2 separate regions of the Homo sapiens genome follow, and region 1 is linked to region 2. Evidence: promoter capture Hi-C in 16 types of primary human blood cells and fetal thymus (Javierre and others, 2016). All regions are on one chromosome and are shown on one strand. Each heading gives the region's core, a stretch centred on a gene start or on the middle of the fragment in contact. The rest is flanking DNA. Distances are from core to core; before and after follow the strand shown. Region 1 overlaps LOC124909361 (a long non-coding RNA gene). Region 2 holds the start of DYNC1LI1 (dynein cytoplasmic 1 light intermediate chain 1).

The links. The method cuts DNA at HindIII sites, captures the fragments that hold promoters and counts their contacts. A CHiCAGO score of 5 or more calls a contact.
Region 1: a fragment that was not itself captured here is called in contact with the fragment with the promoter of DYNC1LI1 in region 2 in 1 of 17 cell types (neutrophils); the score reaches 5.3 in neutrophils.

The regions. Positions count from the first base shown.
Region 1 is chr3:32,371,843-32,378,128 of GRCh38, forward strand. LOC124909361 (a long non-coding RNA gene) reads left to right here. Exons shown (of 2, transcript XR_007095859.1): 1 at 1-6,205. Among named protein-coding and RNA genes, the nearest start is that of CMTM7, 17 kb to the right of the region's middle. The HindIII fragment of the contact is 4,274 bases long and covers 804-5,077 here.
Region 2 is chr3:32,569,374-32,575,513 of GRCh38, forward strand. It overlaps DYNC1LI1 (dynein cytoplasmic 1 light intermediate chain 1), which reads right to left and starts at 1,485. Exons shown (of 13, transcript NM_016141.4): 1 at 1,252-1,485; 2 at 973-1,046. The coding sequence starts at 1,397. RefSeq lists an enhancer at 693-1,478 and silencers at 753-1,242, 1,423-1,682. The HindIII fragment of the contact is 15,701 bases long and covers 1-4,663 here.

The DNA of each region.
Region 1 (6,286 bases), core at 1,691-4,190, 200 kb before region 2:
ATGAAGAATGTTCTGGGGTTGTGGACTAGGCCCGCCCAAAGAGGTAGTGGGGAAGGAAGCTCCAAAAATGAGAGGTGAGTGTAGGGTATGGATGTGTGAGCAGGTGGTGTCGGGGGGCACACAAGGCCACTCTGTGCCCAAAATGTAGCAAGCCATGGAAGGCTGAACTTCCATAACACAGACCTGTAGGCAACTGGTGATGTGATCTTTGGGGAGCTGATTCCCAGTCATCACTGATTTTGCAGAAAAGCTGAAATAACTAGTCACAGTTGGCATGCTCTGCCCTTCCGTCCAGCTCTCCCTCTCACACTCACCAAAGCATGTGCACCTTCCACATACCCTGTGGGTTTTTCAAGTACTTTATGTTGCAAACAACACTCCATAAAAGTCAGAAAAAACAGTAACCTACAGAGGCCTGCTTCTGGAAACAGAAAGAAGCCTGCTTTTATGCTCCACGCAAGCATGTGTGTGTCATTTCTATAATCACGGCCACATTTATAGAACGTAACTTCTGGGGTGAAAAGTGCCGTAAACCACACTCTGAAATGTCCTTCAAGTAGACTGTAATTTTAGTTCTTTCTTGAACTGGTAGCACCAAAGGCATCTGTTTCAAAAGAGCAATGCCTAGTTTGTGTCCATGCAGGGGCACTTGCTGTCTTGTCTTTATTGGTGTTTCTTCAGAAGCATGATCCTTTATGTTACCCTGAGAGTTCACTAAAACAATAACAGCAAAAAGCATTTATTTTTCACTGAAAAGAAATTATTATTTCATCTTTTGAATACTGAGACTTCGTTCATGAATAAGCTTTAAGTGTAGGTTTTTAGACAACAAAATGATTCTCTGTTGTTCAGATTGGAGCTGTAAGTTGTGAATTGGGTTTGCTTTAATTTTTTTCTCTTAAAAAACAAGAGAAAACAAAGCCACACACAATACAGTCAACATAAAAATAGGTTTCTGGGGGCTTGAAAAATATTATTACAGGGATAGTGTACAAGGTACTTAAACTCATCTCTGCCATCTGCGCTTGCCATCTGCATTCACCTCTCAGCCATTCCAAAACCTTCACGTCCTCTTTGGTGGAGCAGAGTGAGTTTTTAACTTGATATATTTACCCACTCATGGCAAATCAATAAAGTGCTTTAGGCAATTAATCTCTCTTTATTGCTATTTCCAACTTACTGCTCCCAAAAGATAAATATTTGGCCAACCTTTGAAAACTACAAGAAAATCTAGAGAAGAGGATGTTCGATATCAGTATTTATTTTTTATTTTTAAGTTGCTCCCTTCATAGGAAAATCCCTTCGGGGCATCAGCACACAAAAGATTATAAATACATGAAATATCTCTGTAATAGAAGGTAGACGTTTAGAAATGCTAACTGAAGATGCAGCCCTGGGTAGAAAATCAACTTAAAGTCCATATTTTTGTTTTCTAGACAATTATTATTTTGAAAAGATGAGTTTTCACAGAAAAAATTGGTTTTATTGAAATTTAATTGAAAAGATAAATTTTCACCGAAAAAAATCTGGACATATGATACATGCAAGCACATGCGCGCACACACACAAGCACACACACTCTGAAAGGTGGCAGCCTGAGCGTTTGTTAACTTGGCTGCACATTAATGTTCTGCTGGCAACATCTGCTGCCAAATGTGAATCGTAAGCAGACAGCTGTGAAGGAAGGTAAGATAACTTCCAGTGTTGATGATGACCTAGAATAATGGGGAAGATTATAATGCATGTTGTTATAAGTTGGGGGGTATATAAACTTGGGTTCTTGGTATATGTAAAAGAAGATAGGGTTTGGGAGAAAGTGCTTGGCATCACAGAGTGATGACTTTTCAGAAACTTAGGAAGGTAAGTGGGAAGAAAGGTGCTGATTAAAAAGATATTCCATCTGGAAGATATGTTTTGAGAAAACTTTCCTATCTATGGCAGAATTGTTTTTGCTAGAATATTCAGAATAGCTAAATGAACCCAGGGCATAGGGAACCTTGTGGCTGCCTCCCCAGCATCTTTTCTTCCTCCTCATATTCTCAAACTGCCCTAGTTTTTATTCAGTATCCAGACCACCCTCTTATAGCCCCAGTGTTTTGTGAGAGGCCGACTCCATTAGGACTCTAGGAATGGAGCCTACGGCTCTGCCTCAGCTCATCAGCATGAGACCACCCTCCTCCTCCACCACAGTGATTGGTTCAGAGATGGTCATGTGACCCACGGCTTGCTTGGGAGTTCTGGGAAAGAGGCATGCTGTGTACGTGTGTGTTATCTAATATACATTGACCCTTTATGCCAGGCACTGTACTAAAGGGCTTTCCATCTATTATCTCATTTAACTCTCAGAAGGGGAACCCTGCGCAGTAGATACTAGATTATCCTCACTTTACAGAGGAGGAAACTGAGGTACAAAGAGGTTAAGCAATTTTATAAAATGTTATAAAAGTCATCTAGCTAGCAAGTGTGGAGAGCAAGCATATTAACTGCTGGTGTTAATGTATTATGTATTTAAAGCACCTGGCACACAATTGGTGCTCAATAAATGATTTCCCTTCTTTTTTTAATGTTTTAATTGACAATAATTGCATGTATTTTGTGGTTATAATGTTATGTGGCTTTGGGGGGTTTTCTTACTTTTTATTTATTTATTTATATTTTTTGAGACAGGGTCTCACTCTGTTACCCAGAGTACAGTGGCACAATAATAGGCTCACTGCAGCCTCAACCTCCAGGGCTCAAGCAATCCTCTCACCTCAGCCTAGCTGGGACCACTGAGACCACAGTCGTCTACTACCAACCAACCACACCTGGTTAATTTTTTATTTTTTTCATAGACATGAGGTGTCACTACATTGCCCAGGCTGGTCTCGAACTCCTGAGCTTAAACGATCTTTGTGCCTCAGCCTCCCAAAGTGCTGGGATTACAGGCATGAGCTGTGCCTGGCCACAATGTGATGTTTTGATTTTTGTATACATTGTGGAATTATTAAATCCGTGCTTACTCTTTTTTTTCTTCTTCTTCTTCTTCTTCTTTTGAGACAGGGTCTCACTCTGTCACCCAGGCTGGAGTTGCAGTGGCAGAATCACGGCTCATTGAAGCCTAGACTTCCCGGGACTCAGATGATCCTCCCACCTCAGCTTCCCGACTAGCTGGGGCTACAGGCATGTGTCACCACGCCTGGCTAATTTTGTATTTTCTGTAGAAACAGGGTTTCGCTGGTCTCAACCTCTCAGGCTCAAGCGATCCACCTGCCTCTGCCTCCCAAAGCGCTAGGATTACAGATGAGAGCCACTGCCCCTGGCCTGCAGCTCTTTTGATGGAACTCTTAGAAGCAACAGTCCTCTCCTTGGGTGAGAAAATATGTAGCCAGGAAGTCGTTTGTAAAAATTTTGTGACCACAAGGGGGAGCCAGTCATAGGCTAACAGTAACGAAGAGTTAAGAGGTGGAAAGAAACTTCATCAATGATAACATCATTGAACCATTGAATCAATTCAGCCCTGAATGCTACCAAGCTCTGACTTTGCAATTACATGAGCAATTCTGCCCACTTAAACTAATTTCCATTACTTGCAACAACAGGCATCATAACCATTACTCAGGACATCCTGGCAAACACCTTTCAAGCAAGTCACCACAAGGGCCTGTATAGACGGTAGTGATGATGAGAGGAGCCAACTTTAGCACCAATGCTATTTAGCAGTAGAAGGGTAGAAAAAGGGAAATTTTGAAAGCCCATTTGACAGTGACTCGGGCCTTCCTAAAGTTATTGCTGAAGGTGGCAATAGCGTGGGAAAATCCTAGAAAAAGAAAGAGCTGGGAGGATGGGTACTCAAAGGAGTACCGCATGACCTATCTTTGGCCATTGCAATAGGAAAGCTGAGTGTGGAGGAGGAACATGAACCATCTGGCCTCCAGCCATTTTAACTTAGGAGAATTCCACCGTGTTGTCGTAAAGGCAAATAGTCACTGGAGAGGTGGCTTCTCTCTCTCTAGGTAAGTTGAGCATTAAGTGCCAAAGAACGTTGAGAATGAGGACTAGACCTAAACTCTTGGCATTTAGGAAAAAGAACTTAGATATCACATATGGTGCAATTAAATCCACAATGAGATACTACTTCACACCCTCTAGAAGGGGTAAATTAAAAAAAAAAAATACCAGGTGTTGGCGAGGTTATGCAGCATCTGGAATTTTTATACACCGCTGGTGGGAGTGTAAAATGGTATAATTACTTACAAAGTTAAACAATACTTGTAACCCAGCAATTCCAGTCCTAGATATCCACCCATGAGAAATATATCCACAAAAATATTGAGCAAGAATATGCATAGCAGCTGTATTCATAGTTGCCCCAAACTGGAAACAACCCAAATGGCTATCAAATGGTGAATGAATACATTGTGTATCTCTACAATGGAATACTGCTCAGCAATAAAAGGGAACAAACTACTGATATAGGCAACAATGTGGATGAATCACCAAAACGTTATGCTGAATAAAAGAAGCCAGACCAAAAAAAATCATTTGATTCTATTTATATGAAACCCTAGAAAAGGCAAAACAAAGCTATAGTGACAGGAAGCAGATCAGTGGTTGCCTGGAAATAGGGCTGGAGCAGTTGGCTTACAAAGAGGCACACGGAGATGTTCTGAGGTGACAGGAATATTCTACATCTTGATTGTGGTGGGGATTGCATGGGTGTATACATTTGTCAAAACTCACAAACTATTCACGTAAAATGGGTGTATTTTAATATACATTATAGCTTGATAAAGTTGATTTTAAAAGAAAAAAAGTGGAATATTTAAAAATGTCCACTCTTGCCCTTCTCCCATCTGCCATGCTGTTGAATTGTTTATTACCTCCTATATCCCATCTGGTTTGTGATCTTTTGGAGAGTTGGGAAGGTGAGGTTTCATCCCCGTCTTCCCTCTGGAGCTCAGCACAGTGCCTGGAATGTAGTATGTGTTCAATTAAATGTCTACTGTAGTGAAAAGACTGGGAAGTTAATGAAGAGTCCTAGAACACCGTGAAGGGTGAGTTAGAAGACAATAGAGGTAAACCAATAGAGAGGGCAAGCTTAAGAGAGGTCTGTGAAATGAGAGCTGTGGGGATGGGAGACTGCCAGGAGATGCAGGAGGCTACAGCTGGGTGATGAGGCCAGCAGGGACCTGGAAGTGAAGAGCTGATGCATCTGTGTTACCCAGAAATGATTGTCAGAACAGTGCTTGATAAATAGCAGCTACCAGGTGGCTAATGAACTGGGTACCTGGGAAAACACACAACCAGTACATAGGTTTCTAGAACATAGAAATGACTGTTTATGAGCTGTGGGGCCTAATAACCTCCAACCATTTAATGATACGGTACTAGGTTTAGCCATGTGAAATGGTCACTATTAGACTCTGTCCTACAAAAATGGCAATTTCATACAATTCGACCTACAACTTTATACTTGAGTTTCACACATAATATTAGTTGATCCTCAATCTTTGCCCTGGCCGGGCGCAGTGGCTCACGTAAATCCCAGCAGTTTGGGAGGCCGAGGCGGTTGGATTACCTGAGGTCTGGAGTTCGAGACCAGCCTGGCCAACATGGTGAAACCCCATCTCTACTAAAAATACAAAAAATCAGCCGGGCATGGTGTTGGGCGCCTGTAATCCCAGCTACTCGGGAGGCTGAGGCAGAAGAATCTCTTGAACCCGGGAGGCGGAGGTTGCAGTAGGCCAAGATCGTGCCACTGCACTCCAGCCTGGGTAACACAGCAAGATTCCATCTCAAAAAAAAAAAAAAAAAATCTTTGCCTTACATTAGGCAGGTGTCCATCGCTCCATTTATCTCGTAGAGACAATGGAGGCTCCACTGAGTTGTCAATGACTTGCCCATGGTTACTCAGTTAGAATAGCTTGGGCTGGCACTGAGATTTTCTCACTCCGTCCCAACTCCTCCAGCCTAGTTTACTGAAAACATCTGGACTGTGAGGAAAGGAACCAGGTGAAAACTGCAAGGTGTGGGGATAAGGTAGTACATTTCCAGAAATCTATTTGGCATTATATATGAAAAGCCGTATATATGTTTGTTCCCTTGATTTGGGGATGTATCTCTTAGGAGTTTAAGATTCATGCACAAAAATGTTAATCCTGTCTTTAATCCAGGGAAAACAACTGGAGTCAGCCTAAAACCCTAACAGTAGGAGAAAGCCGAAGTAAGTACTTACATCTACTCAATGAGCCTTTAGAAATTAATGTACTCCCAATATCCCCTCCCAAGATTATTCAGAATCAGA
Region 2 (6,140 bases), core at 235-2,734:
TAAACATTCATATTTAACCACGCAGCCTATCAAGTAGTATTTGACTTCTTGTTTCCTGTTTTTAGATGGATATAACCAAAACAACAACAACAACAACAAAAAACTCTGGTATTGAGCCGACACCAAATACCAAAGTTTTTAAATTTAATCATCGTATAAGCCAAACTTCAGTTATCTCGCATGTAAAGAGCTATATAGAGAAATTTCTCCTATAAATGATTCAGGAGCTAAGCCTAGAAAAATGCGAATCTGCGAACTATTCTCCCTCAGTCCTCTATCCCCACCCCCAGAGTCACTAAAGAAACAGAATACACAACTTCCAGAGAGCCGAGGAGATACAGAACAATCAGGAGAACTGACACTGGACCGTTTCTCCTTATTACATCCATTTGGCTGAAAAGACTTAACTAGAAAGTTGTGTTCTACTGCCCTTTACAAATTTCAGAATTATATGTGACAGTTAAGGTAGCTGCAACACGAGCACATTGTACCAGAGAACGCTGAATCAAGAACATTTATCGCCAGGTCTTAGTTCTAGCTTCTGTCAATTATACAAAGAGTCAGCTATTAAATATTAATGGCATGCCATTTGCGCTGCAGCTCTCGCAAAGAGCCTCCTGCTACCAATTTTTGTGATGAAAGAAAACCTGTCATTTTCTAGATAAACCCCAGGCCACGAGAATCCCTCAGATGAGCGATCGAATTCTGTCCTTCCCAGGGGAAGCTGTCAGGGCCACCCCCATATACCGGGGAGGAGGAGGAGGAACCTGAGGGAGGGCGGGTCCCCGCAGGTCCTGGGTCAAGGGTCTCGTGTTCCCCTTCTCTCCCAGCCATCCGCGACAGGTCGGGAGGCGAGGCGGGGCGGGGCTGGGCCGGCTGTCCGCACAAAGAGAGCCAGCGAGCTAGCCCGCGGACCAGGTACCCCGGGCCGCTGGGGGCCGGGCGGGGCGGGGCGAGGCAGGGAACACTTACCCAGCAGTAGCACGTTCTTCCCCGCAGGGAGCTTGGAGCGCGAGCGGGTGGAGACCTCGCTGAGGATGCAGGACCTAACGGGAAGCAAGGCGTACGGTGAGGCCGGAGGCCGGAGCCGCAGCGCGGGAGGGACGGACCCGGCCTCGGCGCGCCGGGGATGGGGCTGCCGGGAACGCAGTGGCCGGGCCCGGCGCCGAGCTCCAGCGGGCACGGGATCCCGAGGCGTCCGCGCAAGGCCGGGGGAGCCAGCGGGGGCTGAGGGAGAGGTGGAGTCGTTACCAAAGGTTCTGCCCGTCCTCGTCGTCGCCTGCCGCGGCGCCACCGTTGCCCGACGCTATCTCGTTGCCCAAGGGGCCGCCAGTGTAAGTCGAGGATAATCCCGGCGGAGAAGAACCGAAGGAGCCGACTCGCCCCACGGCCGCCATCTTGGTCGGGAATCACACCACTCCCGGCAAGACTAAATGTGCGAGGCGGCTGAGGCGGTGGCGGTGGAGGCGGCGGGAACCCGGATATGGGGCGTTCAGCGCACGGGAGCGGGGCGGGGCCTGCGGGGGCGGGGCCCCGGGCCGGGCCAGGACTGATGGAGCGAGCGAGAACGGACTGCGCGTGCGTGGCTGCCTGGCCGGCGCTGAGGGGCTGAGCGTACGCGGGCGGCGGGGTGGGCCGCTATGCTGCAACTGAAGCCCAGTGATCTGACAGTATGGAAGTGCTTTCCTTCCGCTCATCCGCGGCCCTGGGCTGCGGCAGGGGGGTTGGGTGTGTCAGGTGAAAAGTGCTCCCTCCCACCCTTCAGACAGGTCCCCAAACCCTGCGGCCTGCGCGGAATTCCTGCATTGTCATTGCCGGCCCACCCACTGTTCAGGCTGAGAGCGGTCCCCCGCCCAAACCGGCGCTTCGCCGGCGCCAAGATAGAAATGGGTCGCCCGGCTGGTAAAGAGGCTGCCCTGCAACCCTGGGCTGGAGTATTGCTGTGGTCCTGGATTTCTGGACTTTATTTGCGTTCTCAAGTGGCGAAGTGTTCCTCAACCTGGACCCACATCAGAAGCAGGTTCTCCGAGCCCCTAAGCAGCGGCGTGACAAAGTAATTGTTTACCCTGGAAATAGACTGTTATTTTTTAAAAATTATTGTCAGGGCTTGCTTTAATGTTCTTAATGTTTTTGTATGAGATCCTCCATGTGAGATTTGAAAAGATCCACTATGCGGGTCATCTAACCGGTCACTAGACATTGATTCCACACTTACTACGTCGAGCACAGTTGACACTGGGAATACATGGATGGACTTATACTAGCCCTAAAATAACTCCTTTTCTATTAGAACTTTACTAGGTAAAGGTATTTGAATGTCTGAACTCCATGTTTAGAAGGAGTCATTGGTTTTAAGGCTCTGTCCTAGTACACCTGTAAGAGCATTTGCTTAAAATTGCCTGGCCTTTGTATGTTATCTCTGTCACTTCATATTTGAAAATCACTTGCTAGAATATGGCCTGATCAATGCTGTTATGCTAGTGAGAAAATCCACAACTAAAGACTATTTGCTATATATTAGCATTACGGTTAGAAGTCTGGAAGCCTTTGGAGGCTGGCAAATCTGAGTTCAGGTCTAGCTCTTCGAGTTTACTGGCTGTGTAACCTTAGGCAATTTACTTAACCTCCGTGAGTCTCAGTTTCCTTATCTGTCAAATGAGGATAAAAGAACTTAGAGTTGTTATTGAGATTAAACGGGATGATTCATGTAAAATGGCTTAGAATAACGACTGGCAAATCTTAAGCGCTTACCACATGTTAATTGTTATCAATGACTTTCTTTACCTTTCACACCATTAATATCTGACCAACCTCTAGAAGTGATGGGCCTAAAGAACTCTTGGAGCTAAAATTCTTTGTCACCTGTAATGCCAGCGCTTTGGGAGGCCAAGGCAGGCAGATTGCTTAAGCCCAGGAGTTCTTGACCAGCCTGGGCAACATGGCGAAACCCCGGCTCTACAAAAAATTAGCCAAGCGTGGTGGTGTGTGCCTATAGTCCCAGCTATTTAGGAGGCTGAGGTGGGAGGATCACCTGAGTCCAGGAGGTCGAGGCTGCAGTGAACTGTGATCATGCCACTGCAATCCAGCCTGGATGACAGAGCAAGACCCTGTCACTAAATAAATAAATAAATAAATAAAATAAAACTTTTGATTTTGTTGTTTATATACTTAAGAAAGGAACCAGAACCCTCCCCAGTAGTCCTACACTTTCTGTGGCACAAAGCAGGATGGAGACCCCCAGGAGAAGCTGAGTCTTTATGTTACTGTTCTAAAGGAGAGCTGTATACTGCTCTTGGCCCCTCTGAAAGCCATTTTACTCTGTACTTTATTCTTTCAGTCATCTTCCTCAGAGCATTTTCCCCTCAATTTTGTTGTCAGTTCCATATCATATTTGCTTAGTCTGAGAAGTGTTTACTTTTATAATAGTGTCAGGCTTCAACACCTCATGACTTCCAGATGCTCAACTACCCACCTAAATTGAGGTCAAAGTTGTATTCCTTGTGGTTTTATAATATCCCTATCCAGCATTCTTCCATTAAGGTGGCTGACAAAAGTGGTCATTTATGAATGCCTACTATGTGCCAGGCACTCTGTGTGTTGTATTTGCAATCCTCATACTTTGTAAGGGTCAGCAAAATTAAGTAACCTACCCCAGGTCACACAGATCAGAAGTTTATAGATAAGCTGAGATTTTTTACTGTCTAGTCTGTAAAATGACCTAGGCCAAACCATGTTAAAATAAATGTCCTCGTAATTTTAGATGCTATTCTGGTAAATACCTTCTGTGAAAACCTCTACATTACAAAAATAGGGAAGCTATATATTATGAGGAAGTCTATAAAAGGAAATAATTCATCAGTCCCTTGGAATTTTTGTTGCATAAATGCTGTTTTATAATTGACCTGTTTTCTATACTATGATTGCTTTTTCTTTATTGCCCAATGTTTTCTTACATCTAAAATTAATAACCATCTTGTTTTTCTTTTTTCTTTTTTTTTTTTTTTTTTTTGAGACGGAGTCTTGCTCCATCGCCTAGGCTGGAGTGCATTGGTGCGATCTCGGCTCACTGCAACCTCCGCCTTCTGGGTTCAAGCAATTCTCCTGTCTCAGCCTCCCGAGTAGCTGGGACTACAGGTGCCTGCCAACACACCTGGCTAATTTTTGTATTTTTAGTAGAAACGGCGTTTCACCTTGTTGGTCAGCCTAGTCTCAAACTCCTGACCTCAGGTGATCCACCCGCCTTGGCCTCCCAAAGTGCTGGGATTACAGGCGTGAGCCACTGCGCCCGGCCAACCATCTTCTTTTTCATTTGCTTAGATTTCCATGTCTTTAATTCAGTTTCAAATTCCCGTCCCAGCTGTGTAAAACTCCTTGTTAGGTATTTTAACAATTTTACCTTCTTAAAGACACCTTTAAGAACCTTCTAGCCTGCTCCATTCTGAGTTGGTTATTCTGAAACTGAATACACAGCTGTCATCCTGTGATCTTTCACCATTGTTCAGAAGATTCCCTTTGCCTCAATCTTGTGTCTTCTTGTTTTAGTGGAGAACTTCCCCCAATAGTTTTCTGATAAAAAGGCTCACTGGTAAGTCTTTGGACACCAGTGTATCCAGTCAAGGTCAACCAGAGGAAAAATGGCATTCTTAAGGGGGTGCTAGAGGAAAGCTTAATAAAGGGACTGTTTACAAAGGTGTGAACAGTGTGAAGAGATAGGACTAGCAACAGCAGGAAGCCTTAGGCTTGAAAGGGATAGAGGAAGGAATGTTTACTAGAATCCAGAGAGAGATGCAGCTTATAGGAAAGTGTTGCCCACCAAGATTTATAGTCTTCAGTAAAGGAACACAGTATCCATCCCTTTCTTTCTGCCCCCTGGTCTCCCACCAGTGTTGCCCTTTGACCAAACCCAACCAGGAGCCAGAGGACAAGAGACCCAAGTGAAGCAATCCATGCAGGTCTACCTCCCTGAGCACAAAGTGGGAATAGAGAAGGATCTCAAGGGGCAAACAAGATATCTAGCACACCTCCTGTGTTTGAAAATGCATTTAATCTACCCTCACTTAATAATAGTTTGGTTAAGTATAGAATTCTTGAGTTACAAGCTATCTTCCCTTAGGTTTTTAAAGCCTTGGCCCCCTTATCTGTTAGATTCTAGTGTTACCATTGAGAAATCCAAAGCCATTCTGATTTCTAAATCTTTGTTATGTGTTCTTTTTTCTCCTTATTGGAATCCTTTGCAACTTCTACAAATTCCCACTAACACATCTATCCCCCTTCCATTATTTGCACTTTCATACTCTTCCCTCCTGCTAAGTATCGAAAGAATAATCCATACTCTTATACTAAAGCATTCTCTATGCACTAGAACCCATCTCCTATCCTCAACTCAATGACATTGTTCCAACAATTATTCCCTTTCTCTATATAATCATTTTTTATTTCCACTAGATTATTGCCATTAACATACAAACATACTATTGATTCTCTAATTTTAAAAAAAAGAAAGAAACATTTCCCTGAACCCCATTCCTTCACCAGCTACTACTACATATCTTTCCTTTTATTTGAGGGTCTCCCTCTGTCTCCCAGGCTGGAGTGCAGTGGTGCAATCTCGGCTCACTGCAACCACCGCCTCCGGGATTCAAGCTATTCTCCTGCCTCAGCCTTCTGGGTAGCTGGGATTACAGGTGCACACCACCACACCTGGCTAATTTTTGTATTAGAGACAGGGTTTCACCTGTTGGCCAGGCAGGTCTTGAACTCCTGATCACAAGAGATCTGCCCTCCTCAGCCTCCCAAAGTGCTGGGATTACAAGTGTGAGCTACCACGCCGGGCCTCTTTCCTTTCTTTGCCATCAAAACTCTTTAAAAGAATTGTCTCTCTATGCTATCTTAAATTCCTCTTCCCCCTTGCCCTTATGGCTCACTTCAATCAGGCTTTTACCCCTATGACTCTACAGAAACTGCTCTTACCCTTGTCAATGACCCCCTTATTGCTTAATACAATGGTACACTCTTTATCCTTGTCTTTGTTGACCTATCAACAACACAGGATACAGTTGCTCATTCCTTCTGGATATCCTTCATGTCGCTGCCAGGTCACCATGTTCTCTTTGTGTTTTTCCTCCCTTGGTAGCTGTTCC